Regions from separate parts of the Homo sapiens genome. Here region 1 is linked to region 2. Evidence: promoter capture Hi-C in human tissues and cell types (Jung and others, 2019). All regions are on one chromosome and are shown on one strand. The core of a region is centred on a gene start or on the middle of the fragment in contact, and the rest is flanking DNA. Distances in the headings are between cores, read along the strand shown. Region 1 overlaps LOXL2 (lysyl oxidase like 2). Region 2 holds the start of TNFRSF10D (TNF receptor superfamily member 10d).

Region 1 (5,803 bases), core at 2,069-4,568, 220 kb after region 2:
ACCTGTGGCCTTCCCGTCTTCCATCGTGTGGGCCCTCTTGCCTCTCCACAACCCTCCTCCTTGAGGAACTTACTGGCGCCAGGGCTTCCCTAGAGAGGTGATGTTGGGTGTCTTGGAATCAGAACACGCTGTCTGAATCCTGCCTGCCCCACTTCCTAGCTATATTAAGAGCCTCAATTTCTTCTTCCAAATATAGAAATTACCTTATGGGTGTGTGTGTGTGTATGATGGTTAAATGAAATAATGTGAAGATCCCTAGCACACAGCATCGAATCAGTCATGTTAATTTGCTTCTTTCCTTCCTTTGAACCTAGAACCTGATTGTGGAGCTCTGTGCTTCATACTTAGTAAATATTGGCCGAGTGAATAAATATAAATTTCTATTCCAATATTCACATCCTATCAATACTACCTTTCCCTCTGACCTAATTACATTGGAATGCAAGCTAACAAATTCATTCCTTGTCATTTTTCATATTAAGACATTTAAGGCTTAAGGAATAGATTAGTTATTTCTAAGAGGGCACTTTTACGTTTTTTTTTTGTTTTTTTTTTTTTTTTTTTTTGAGACAGAGTCTTGCTCTGTCGTCCAGGCTGGAGTGCAGTGGCGCAATCTCGGCTCACTGCAAGCTCTGCCTCCCGGGTTCACGCCATTCTCCTGCCTCAGCCTCCCGAGTAGCTGGGACTACAGGCGCCCGCCACCACGCCCGGCTAATTTTTTGTATTTTTAGTAGAGACGGGGTTTCACCGTGTTAGCCAGGATGGTCTCGATCTGCTGACCTCGTGATCCACCCGCCTCGGCCTCCCAAAGTGCTGGGATTACAGGCGTGAGCCACCGTGCCCGGCCCGATGTGAATTTCTAGATATGAATTTTACCTATTGTGCAAGGCTAGAAGTAAGAACGTTAGGATTTTTCATGAGTAGTTGGACCTGACCCGTGCCCTTCAAAACAGCTCGCCTACATACCTGTTTGCCTCTGAAATTCACTTGTATAGTAAAGGCAGTAGGCAAATGTCGAGGTAATTTATGGGATACGAAGATCTGGGATCAGAAAATCTCACCCTAGCAGATAATCAAGGCTTATGTCTAGACAGGAATTATGGGTTATAAGGTTGGACCAAGGAGGTGCAGAGCAAGGCATGATCCCAGCGAAGCACAGCTGACTTCCAAGGCAACGTGCCAGCTCAGCTGCACACACCTGCTTGCCCTGAAGGAAATGAGCCTCTAAACACATGCTGGACATGGGTGCTCCAGAGGGGCTGTCAAGGCCTGAGGCAGTGAGCGTTGCTGACACAGAGGGGAGAACAGGCTACCTGCAGTTACTTCAGCAGAACCAACAGGGAACGGCAATTCCTCAAGTCTCACCTCCTCCTAGAAGTCCACTCAGCTTACTTCCAACAGTACCTGCAGCTGGTTCAGGAGGCTCGAGGAGTTGGACAGACTTCATTCCCTATCTGAGTCCATTTCCAAATAGATGTCTCAGGAAGGCAGAAGGAGGGAGTAACTTAAAAGGCTCCAGCGGCCGGGCGTGGTAGTTCATGCCTGTAATCTCAGCCCTTTGAAGGCCGAGGCGGGCGGATCACCTGAAGTCAGGAGTTCAAGACCAGCCTGGCCAATGTGGTGAAACCCCATTGCTACTAAAAATACAAAAATTAGCCGGGCATGGTGGCAGGTGCCTGTAATCCCAGCTACTTGGGAGGCTGAGGCAGGAGAATCGCTGGAACCCAGGAGGCAGAGGTTGCAGTGAGCCGAGATTACACCATTGTATTCCAGACGGAGTGAAACTCCGTCTCAAGAAAACAAACAAACAAAAAGCCTCCAGCTTTCCCAGCATTCAACATGGACAGTGAATTAGTGAATTAGAAGGTGCAAAGAGGCAATTTGCTGTAACCTTTGGGGTTCTGGTAATTTTATCGTGCAAAGACTGGAGGGAGCAATTCCACAGCAGTTTCCTTCAACTATGGATATAAAGACTTTCCTATTCTCTGCCTGTTTTATGTATTTATTTACCACTCCCTGCGCCCCCGTCCTGTTCGAACAGGATCACCTCTACTTTTATACAGCAACCTGGACACCACATGGGCTGGTGTTGAAGGTGGGCTTCTGTGGAAGAGAAAGTTGGATTTTTTTTCTTTTTTTTTTTTTTTTTGAGACAGAGCTTTTCACTCCTGTTGCCCAGGCTGGAGTGCAGTGGTGTGATCTCGGCCTACTGCAACCTCTGCGTCCCAGGTTCAAGCAATTCTCCTGCCTCAGCCTCCCAAGTAGCTGGGATTACAGGCACACACCACCACACCCAGCTAATTTTTTTTTTTTTTTTTGGTATTTTCAGTAGAGAAGGGGTTTCACCATGTTGGCTAGACTGGTCTTGAACTCCTGACCTTAAGTGATCCGCCCGGCTCAGCCTCCCAAAGTGCTGGGATTACAGGCATGAGCCACTACACCCAGCCAAAGTTGGATGTTTAAAAGTAAAACAGAACTTATATTTATTAATCATTAATCAGTATCAATCTGATTTTGATCAGTATCAATCAGCATGTGAGAAGTGCTAAGACAGGTATTTCATCCTCTCGTCTGGATGAGCACTGCCCAACAGAAACGTAATGAGAGCCACATATGAAATTTTAAATTCCCTCGTAGCCACTTTCCAAAAGTAGAATAAAATAGATGAAATCAATGTTAAAGATATATTTTATTTGATGCAATATATTTCAATATGGAATCAATACAAAAATTATTAATGAGATGTTTTGCGTTCTTTTTTCTTTTTGTACTAAGTCTTTGAAATCCAGCACGTACTTTGCGTTTGCAGCGCATCTCAATTCCAAGCAGCACATTGCAAGTGTTTGGTGGCCCCATATGGTGGTGGCTGCCATACTGCACAACACAGCTTTGGACAACCCCCTGAGCAAGGTATTATCAGCATCCCTATTTTCCTAAGGAAAAACCGAGAGACAGAAAGGCTACATGATTTTCCTATAGTCACACTGCTAAAAAGTGATCAAGCTGGAATTTGTAACCAGGCCAGCCAGATACCAGAGCAGACACCCTTATTCACTAATTGTTGAGGTCAGGAGTTCGAGACCAGCCTGGCTAACATGGTGAAATCCCATCTCTACTAAAAAATACAAAAATTAGCCGGGCGTGGTAGCACACACCTGTAATCCCAGCTGCTCAGGAGGCTGAGGCAGGAGACTTGCTTGAACCCTGAATGTGGAGGTTGCAGTGAGCTGAGCTCATGCCACTGCACTACAGCCTGGGCGACAGAGCAAGACTCCCTCTCCAAAAAAGAAAGAAAGAGAACAAAATATAAGTGCTCTGTGTCTCTTACGATGTCTTAGAATAAACAAATATGTAAGTTCTCCATCTACCCTTCCAGACATTTGAGGACATCTAGACTAATATGGCAGACACATTTCTCTTCTCCATACCTGTTCTATTAGTCCTTGCTCAGAGATCTTAATTTCACAAAAGAAATAAAAAAGCCTGGTGGAGATACCACAGTGGGGAGAGTTTTTAGAAAACAGGCAGATCTATTCTCAGCATTCACCTTGGAAGACCTCCAAGGGTGTCTCAACATTGACAGTCTAAGAAGCATCTGCTCCAGTGAAGTCACCTCAGTCCACATCATGGAAATTCCAGGACCCTCCTCTACGCTGAATGCAAGCAGAGAGCATCTGCCAACTGGGTCAGCAGAACATGGGAGAATCAGGCCAAGGATCTCCGTAGCTCCCTCCACACGCTCCAAATAAATGCGGCTTTCACAGGCACGCAAGGGTCCGCAAGGGGAAGGCCTCCCAAGGTGCTGGGATTGCAGGCATAAGTCAAGGTGAGAGGCCCACCTTGGAGAGTATCCTGTTCAAACCTAGTTTGAGTGAGGTCTGGGAGCTGCCGTGGCAGATGGCCTTAATTATTCACACAGTTGAGCCCAGGAGTGGGTCGTAATTAAAGGGACAAGGCAAGGTGCCGAAGGACTGAAGTCTCTGACTGACACAAATAAAAGCCAGAGACTGCCAGGAAAAGTTGGTTGTGCCTGGCTCTTCAGAAAGGGAGAAATTATCCCCCAATATGGTCTCACTGGGCTTTTGACTGCACGGCTGAGAACCCTCTTACATTCAATGCAGTCCATTCAAGGTTACAACATTCACACAGATGATTCTAGTATAAGCTTTGCCAACAAGAGGCACTGTGTCCTCGGGGGGTATCAGAGAGAGATCAGGAAAGAATTCCTTCACATTAGAGGGACTCGGGGATCGAGGTATTCCTTATAAACATCAGGTGGGATCAGCTTACCCTCCCCAGGGTCTCGGGCACCTCCCAATGCAGGGGCCCACTCAGACAGCCCACAGCACACCCTTCCAGGAAAAACAGGCGGGATGCTCTGCCACCTCTTTACTGACCATAAACGGCATGGACTAGCGGCTTAGTCATGCAGAATTTGGTTCAAATCTTATTTCTTAGCTTATTAGCTCTGTGACCTAGGCCCACTTAGATTTTTCTAAGTCTCAGGATTTCATCTACCAAATGGAAACAATATGTACTTAAAAACAACTTTTTAGGCCAGGCACGGTGGCTCATGCCTGTAATCCCAGCACTTTGGGAGGCTGAGGCAGGTGGATCACTGGAGGTCAGGAGTTCGAGACCAGCCTGGCCAACATGGTGAAACCCTATCTCTACCAAAAATACAAAAATTAGCTGGGCATAGTGGTGGGCACCTGTAATCCCAGCTACTTGGGAGACTGAGGCAGGAGAATCACTTGAACCCGGAAGGCAGAGGTTCAGTGAGCCGAGATCACGCCATTGCACTCCAGCCCGGGCGACAAGAGCGAGACTCTGTCTCAAACAAACAAACAAAAAAACTTTTTTAAGGAAAAATATGAAACATCTTTTCAGGCCTGTTGTAAAAATCAAAGATCATGCTTCTTAAGTTCCTAGACCATAGCAGGTGGCCAATAAAAATAGCAGCTAATATATCTTGGTTCAAACAGGTGCTGCCTGCTAGATTCGAGTCAGGTTATTCAGGCACCAACTACAGTTCTGAGTGATACTAAGCTGCATAATGCAGTTGCTTACATTTAATTTTGATCTTCAGCTTCCCCAGGTGTTATTTGGGGAACTGTGAGCTGCCAAGGCTGAGCCTAGGTAGTTCCTTCTGGATCCCGCACCTTGCAACAACTTAAAATTTAGAAATGGGCTGGGTGCTCATGCCTGTAATCCTGGCACTTTGGGAGGCCAAGGTGGGATGATTGCTTCAGCTCAGGGGTTTGAGACCAGCTTGAGCAACATAGGGAGATCCTGTCTCTACAAAAAAATTTTTTTTTTTAATTGGCTGGGCATGGTAGCAAATGCCTATTGTTCCAGCTACTTGGGAGGCTGAGGCAAGAGGATCACTTGAGCCCAGGAGGTTGAGGCTGCAGTGAGCAGTGACTGTGCCACTGCACTCCAGTCCAGCCTGGGCGACAGAGCTGGGACTTGTCTCCAAGAAAAACAAAAACAAAAAGCAAAAAATATACTCACACACACACACACACACACACACACACACACACACACACACACACTAGAAATGTACATTTACTCCAAAGAATATACAATATTAGCAAAAAGCTTAATTATCTAAATAAAAAGGTGTCTTCTCATATACTGTATACATTAGGTATGTGCAAAATTGTGCCAAGTCTGCAAGTAAAGCTTTTAAGGAGGGTAGGGGAAAAAAAGACTTTTAAGCAGGGCTTGTATCAGCCAGTGCTTGCTGATCTTGCTGAGAGCTGGGGAAGAGGGCTGGGTTGGAGGGAGAGAAAGAGGT
Region 2 (5,809 bases), core at 1,654-4,153:
ATCCTCCCACACCTGCTAACACAGCCCTCTGAGGTTTACACAGGGCTGCTGAAGATTTTTATCTCCTCTTCACTTTACAGGCAGGAGCTGGGGCCACACCAGTGTCACAGAGCTGGAGGGGAAGCACAGCAGGGCCCAGCTGTTCCCAGCCTCCAATCTCAGGAGTCCTTGAGAGCCTCAGAGTCCGAGATTCTGGGCCGTTGGATCTTTTCGATTCCTACTTTGATAAAGAGAAGGGCGGGGCGGAAGCCTCTGTCACACAGATTGGAACAGTCCAACGCTGACAGAGCCAGGACCTGGGGTCAGGAACTGAGCTCAGCTCCAGGCTCATCTGATGTCCTCCTGACAGCCTGAAGATGGAGACCTTATCTCCATTTACAGGCGTGGCAGGTGGCAGGGACTGGCCCCAGCTGACCACGGTTCTCCAAGTTCACAGCTGGGAATTCAGTCTTCCCTGCCACCCTCCCCTGCTGTCTCATCTGGATCCCCCGGTCATCTACTCCCACTACCAAAACTCCCGTATCCTTGAAAATTCCTAATACCATTAAGGAATGAAAGTACATAACAATGTGATGAATCACCTTTTACTTCCTAGACTAGCAACGAATGAAAGCTAAGTGTAACAAGGGTGTAGGGATACAGGCACATGTGTGAACTAGGTGTGAGTGTAAGCTGAGTTCAATGGTCTTTTGGAAGAAAATTCGTAAACATCTAAAGAAACTTCTGAAATGATTTATCCCACGGAAGTAGAAGTAAAATTCTACTTCTAAGGAGTTGCCCAATAAGCTGGTGCGCATGGACATGTGGACACACGATACATACAAGGGTATTTAGTACAATGCTGTTGGAATTAGCAAAGGCAAATTTGCTTTGGGTTATATCCCATCGGGATGGGATATAACCAGCTGCCTCTAGATGGCAACAGTGAATTAACCTGTGGCTTACCCATGTAGTAAAATACAATACCCTTGTTTAAAAGAAAATCAATCTGAATGTACTGCCATAAAACATCTAATGTGATTTGTGCTAGCTCCAAAATTTTAAAAAGCAACTGTGCATTGAAATGCATTTAATAAGGCAAGATTGATGGAGGGATCAAAGCCTCCTTTGGGACGCATAGAGTTCACATTCCCAAAACTGTGAAATTCAGGTTGCTGGTCTTGTCTACACAGGTCATCCACACATTCTCTCTTCAGGGCCACTGTCCTGACACAGCCATTCTTCTAGCTGCCTCAGGTAGGTCCACCCACTATAAACTATTGTAGAAGTCAGTTGTGTAATTTTTGAGAGGTGAAAATGTCACTGCTGTTCTGAATTTAGTATTACTTCGTTGAAAGAAAACATGGAGACTCTCATGGTTCATGTAATCTTGTTTTATCCTCCCCGTTTTGTTTTTTGGTATTACGTAAGAAACCTTAGAAAGCACTGTTGGCAGAAACGTCAGTCACTCAGAAAAAGTCCTGGCAGTCTGCACATCTTATTTTTATGTCCTTCTTGTGCACCCCACTACCAATCTCAGTTTCCAAACCCAACTCACAACGAGAACTTTACATCTTTTATGCCTAAGGAAGGGGCCATCCCGCGGTCCTGCCTATGGGATACAGAGGGGACACACGGGTGGCAGTGGAAGACACTGACTGCAAGCACCTTGGTTAACCGCTTCCTGCCACTTTCAGGGTTCTATAGGAAATGAAAGTTACAAAAAACAGCGTTGGAAAGCTTTTTCACAGGCTGTTTGTTAAACTGATCTCCAAGAAACACGTGTAACAGTGTAAACATAGGGTTAATTTTGTTTGTTTGTTTGTCTGTTTTTGTTAAGGCAGAGTCTCGCTCTGTCGCCCAGGCTGGAGTGCAGTGGTGCAATCTCGGCTCACTGCAACCTCTGCCTCCCGGGTTCAAGCAGTTCTCCTGCCTCAGCCTCCTGAGTAGCTGGGACTACAGGCGCAGGCTGCCACGCCTGGCTAACTTTTTTTTTTTTTTTTTTTTTTTTTTTGAGACGGAGTCTCGCTCTTGTTGACCAGGCTGGAGTGCGATGGCGCGATCTCGGCTCACTGCAACCTCCGCCTCCCGGATTCAAGTGATTCTCCTTCTGCCTCAGCCTCCCGAGTAGCTGGGATTACAGGCGACCGCCATCACGTCCGGCTAATTTTTGTATTTTTAGTAGAGACGGGGTTTCACCATGGTGGCTAGGCTGGTCTCCAACTCCTGACCTCAGGTGATCCGCCCGCCTCGGCCTCCCAACGTGCTGGGATTACAGGCGTGAGCCACCGCGACCGGCCTGGGTTAACGTTATGAACGAACGAACGAACGAACGAACGAAAGAGGCAACCGCTCTGTGGCTTCCTGAGGTTCACTCCGGGGTTTCCATCTTGACTCCCTCCCTCCGCTGATTCTGGAACTTCCTCTGGGGCAGCTCAGTGCGGTCCTCGCCGCACGGGACAGCCAGGGGGAGCGCGCGCTCTGCTCCCTCGCGGCCCGGTCGCTCCTGCCCAGCCCGGGCACCCCACTCTTCCCCTGACTCCGACGGCGGGTTCGTCCTGCCCAGACATGCCCGGCCGCAGGCGACCCGGGCCAAGCATCCCCACCGTGTCCCCCTCTCTCCCTGCCCACTCCCGGCGCCAGGTGCGCTCTTCCCCAGCCAGGGACCGCGGCGGAGACTCACCGGCAGCAGAACCGCGACGATGAAGACGACGAACTTAAGGATCTTGGGGTCCAGGAGCCATGGTCTGGTTCCCGACGCTGTCCTGGCTCCTGGATAGCGCCCTGCTCGAGCGCTCGAGGCGGTCGGGACGCTTTGTCCCCAAAGTCCCATGAGAAGGGAGGAGGGTGGATCGAAAGCGCCAAAAATCAATCAGAAATCGTCCCCGTAGTTTGTGCGCGTGCAAAGGTTCTCGCAGCTACACTGCCAGAATAGAACGTGCTCCTCCGCTTTTATACCCCGGAAAAAAGGCGTGGTCAGTTGTACTCCCTTCCCGCAGTCACTTCCAGGCACTCAGGCTGGGTCTCCCCCAGCACCTCCAGGAGGGCCCAGGTTGTGTGGGTGGGTGCATGGACGGACAGGAACTGGCTCTTTCCGGCAGCGGTGACCCAGGGCCTGCGGTTTGATTCCGGGTCCTGTCCAGGCTGTAGGCAGCAGAAGGGGAAGGAGCTGAGGCGCTGCCCGCTGCGCTGCTGTAGTCTGGGTAGTGAGCTCCAGAGGAGGCACTGGAGGCCCATCCTGAGCCTGCTCCCTCCCCGGGCCGCCTGTCTCTCCTCTTCTTAAACCCTGAACTACTTCCTGGCCTCAGGACTTCAGTCCACTCTTAGCTTCTGCTCCCACTCCCTCCTCCCACAGCGGCCTCACTGACCAGTGCACTGATGCCACTGATGTCTCCAGCCTCCTTGCTGCTGTGACCCAGCTCCAAGCTTCTCTGGCAGGGGCTTGGTATCCCTCAGTAGCGGGTGCCTGGCACCAAGGAGGGGCCCAGTGAACACATGAGTGGACAGAATGAAGGACACAGAGGCCATGACAGGCACCTGCAGAGGCTGAGGAGTAGGTAGGAGGGAGAGGAACGCCGGGGGCATCCCTAGCCACAACCTGGCACCCTTTGCATGGTCAAAGCACAAACACTCCCTGACCAACCTTGAGGGCTCTAGTATTGAGGCCCCATGGAGACAGGGGAATCAGGGGAGTGCCTTCCAAAGTCTGTCCCCAAGTCTATTGTCTACCCAGGTCCAACTGTCTGACCTTGGGCTACTTACCTCCCCATCCAGTTGAACACACTGCCGCTGTGAGGGCAGACCCAATGTGTGGTTTTGAAGGGTGCCAGCTTGTGACCCTAAGCAGTAAGGTCAATGGCAGGACTCCTAGACCCTTGGGATGAGTCGGCTCCTGACCCCTCACATGGTAGATAGAAGAGGATAGCGCTATAGAAATGAAGGTTTTTTGGCTCATGAGAAACCTGGGAATGAAATGTCATCCTCTCCACAGGCTTGGATTTGAGCGATGGATCACCCTGAGCACCTTCCAGGGCCCAGACAATGACCTAGGGTCAGAAATGTGAGCCAGGGCCGGGCGCGGTTGCTCACGCTTGTAGTCCCAGCACTTTGAGAGGCTGAGGTGGGCGAATCAAGAGGTCAGGAGTTCGAGACCAGCCTGGCCAACATAGTTAAACCCCATCTCTACTAAAAATACAAAAATTAGCTGGGCGTGGTGGCGGGCACTTGTAATCCCAGCTACTCAGGAAGCTGAGGCAGGAGAATTGCTTGAACCCAGGAAATGGAGGTTGCAGTGAGCCGAGATTCGTGCCACTGCACTCCAGTCTGGGTGACAGAGCGAGACTCTGTGAAAAAAAAAAAAAAGAAAAAAAAATGTGTGCCAGGTCCCAGGCACTGAGCTAGGGTCAGAAATGTGCGCCAGGTTTCAGGCACTGAGCTAGACTCAGAAATGTGTGTCAGGCCCCAGGCACTGAGCTAGGGTCAGAAATGTGTGTCAGGCCCCAGGCACTGAGCTAGGGTCAGAAATGTGCGCCAGGTTCCAGGCACTGAGCTAGGGTCAGAAATGTGTGCCAGGTTCCAGGCACTGAGCTAGACTCAGAAATGTGTGTCAGGCCCCAGGCACTGAGCTAGGGTCAGAAATGTGTGTCAGGCCCCAGGCACTGAGCTAGGGTCGGAAATGTGTGCCAGGCCCCAGACACTGAGCTAGGGTCAGAAATGTGTGCCAGGACCCAGGCAATGAGAAATGTGTGGGGTCAGGAATGTGTGCGGGGTGCAGATCCAGGCAGGAGGTGAAAGGTCAGGGACTTCAGGAAGACTGACAGCATTAACACAGAGCCACCAGGGCCTGCAGGAAAGTCCTTAGAGCACCTTAGCTCCCTTGGCCCTGGAGGGTGGACCACACAGTATAGACCAGAAACCAGACTGCAGGTAACAACGCATTCTCTGTGCCCTGTGTGGAGCACTGACTAGGGCTAATGGCAAAAGGCTGTGAGCACCTCCAAGGAACTGGGCCTTTAGAGTCAAGTTTCCACTTAAGAGGCACTTACTAGCTTGAGATGGAACACTAACTGAAGTCTCCCCTGTCACTGAAGGACATAAAATAATCTTGAAACCTGAAAAACTGATGATGTCTTCAGGAATCTTGGAAAAGCTCTAACGGGGAGGCCAGTCCCAGAAGAGTTCTATTACAAAATGGATTTTTTTTTTTTGAGATGGAGTCTCACTCTGTTGCCAGGTTGGAGTGCAGCACGATCCAGGCTCACTGCAACCTCTGCCTCCTGGGTTCAAGCGATTCTCCTGCCTCAGCCTCCCGAGTAGGTGGGATTACAGGCACATGCCACCACGCCTGGCTAATTTTTGAATTTTCAGTAGAGACGAGGGATCTTCATGTTGGCCCGGATGGTCTCGATCTCTTGACCTCGTGATCCACCCGCCTCAGCCTCCCAAAGTGCTGGGATTACAGGCGTGAGCCACCTCACTCAGCCTAAAAAATGGAAATGGTTGATATGGGATCCTGGTGCCTGAGGAAGGCAAAGAGGAGACACTCATGAGCAGGGAGCCTCTGTTCCCCTCAGACTGAGTCTGGAACTGGGTGAGGAGCTGCTGGATTCTGTGGTCACTTGGACATTGCCCTATACACAGCTCTTTACTTACTGACCAAGAGCTACTTAGTTTGTAGACAGTCATTCCTAGATGAATGGACAACATCCTACTTGGAAGGCCACCCCTCTGATGGAAGAAGGCAAAGGCAAATTGGCTAGGTGGGTTGGATTGCATGCTATTTTCCTAGCCTTATGGAAGATTTGAACAGCAGCAAAAGCCCCTGTACTTG

What was found. Contacts are between HindIII fragments. The study calls those that stand out against the background at their distance.
Region 1: a fragment that was not itself captured here is called in contact with the fragment with the promoter of TNFRSF10D in region 2 in 1 of the 25 tissues and cell types used here (spleen).

Annotation. Positions count from the first base shown.
Region 1 is chr8:23,383,113-23,388,915 of GRCh38, forward strand. The region is part of intron 1 of LOXL2 (lysyl oxidase like 2); the gene reads right to left. Among named protein-coding and RNA genes, the nearest start is that of LOXL2, 18 kb to the right of the region's middle. The HindIII fragment of the contact is 3,132 bases long and covers 1,753-4,884 here.
Region 2 is chr8:23,161,124-23,166,932 of GRCh38, forward strand. TNFRSF10D (TNF receptor superfamily member 10d) reads right to left here and starts at 2,904. Exons shown (of 9, transcript NM_003840.5): 1 at 2,663-2,904. The coding sequence starts at 2,812. RefSeq lists an enhancer at 2,642-2,761. The HindIII fragment of the contact is 7,003 bases long and covers 795-5,809 here.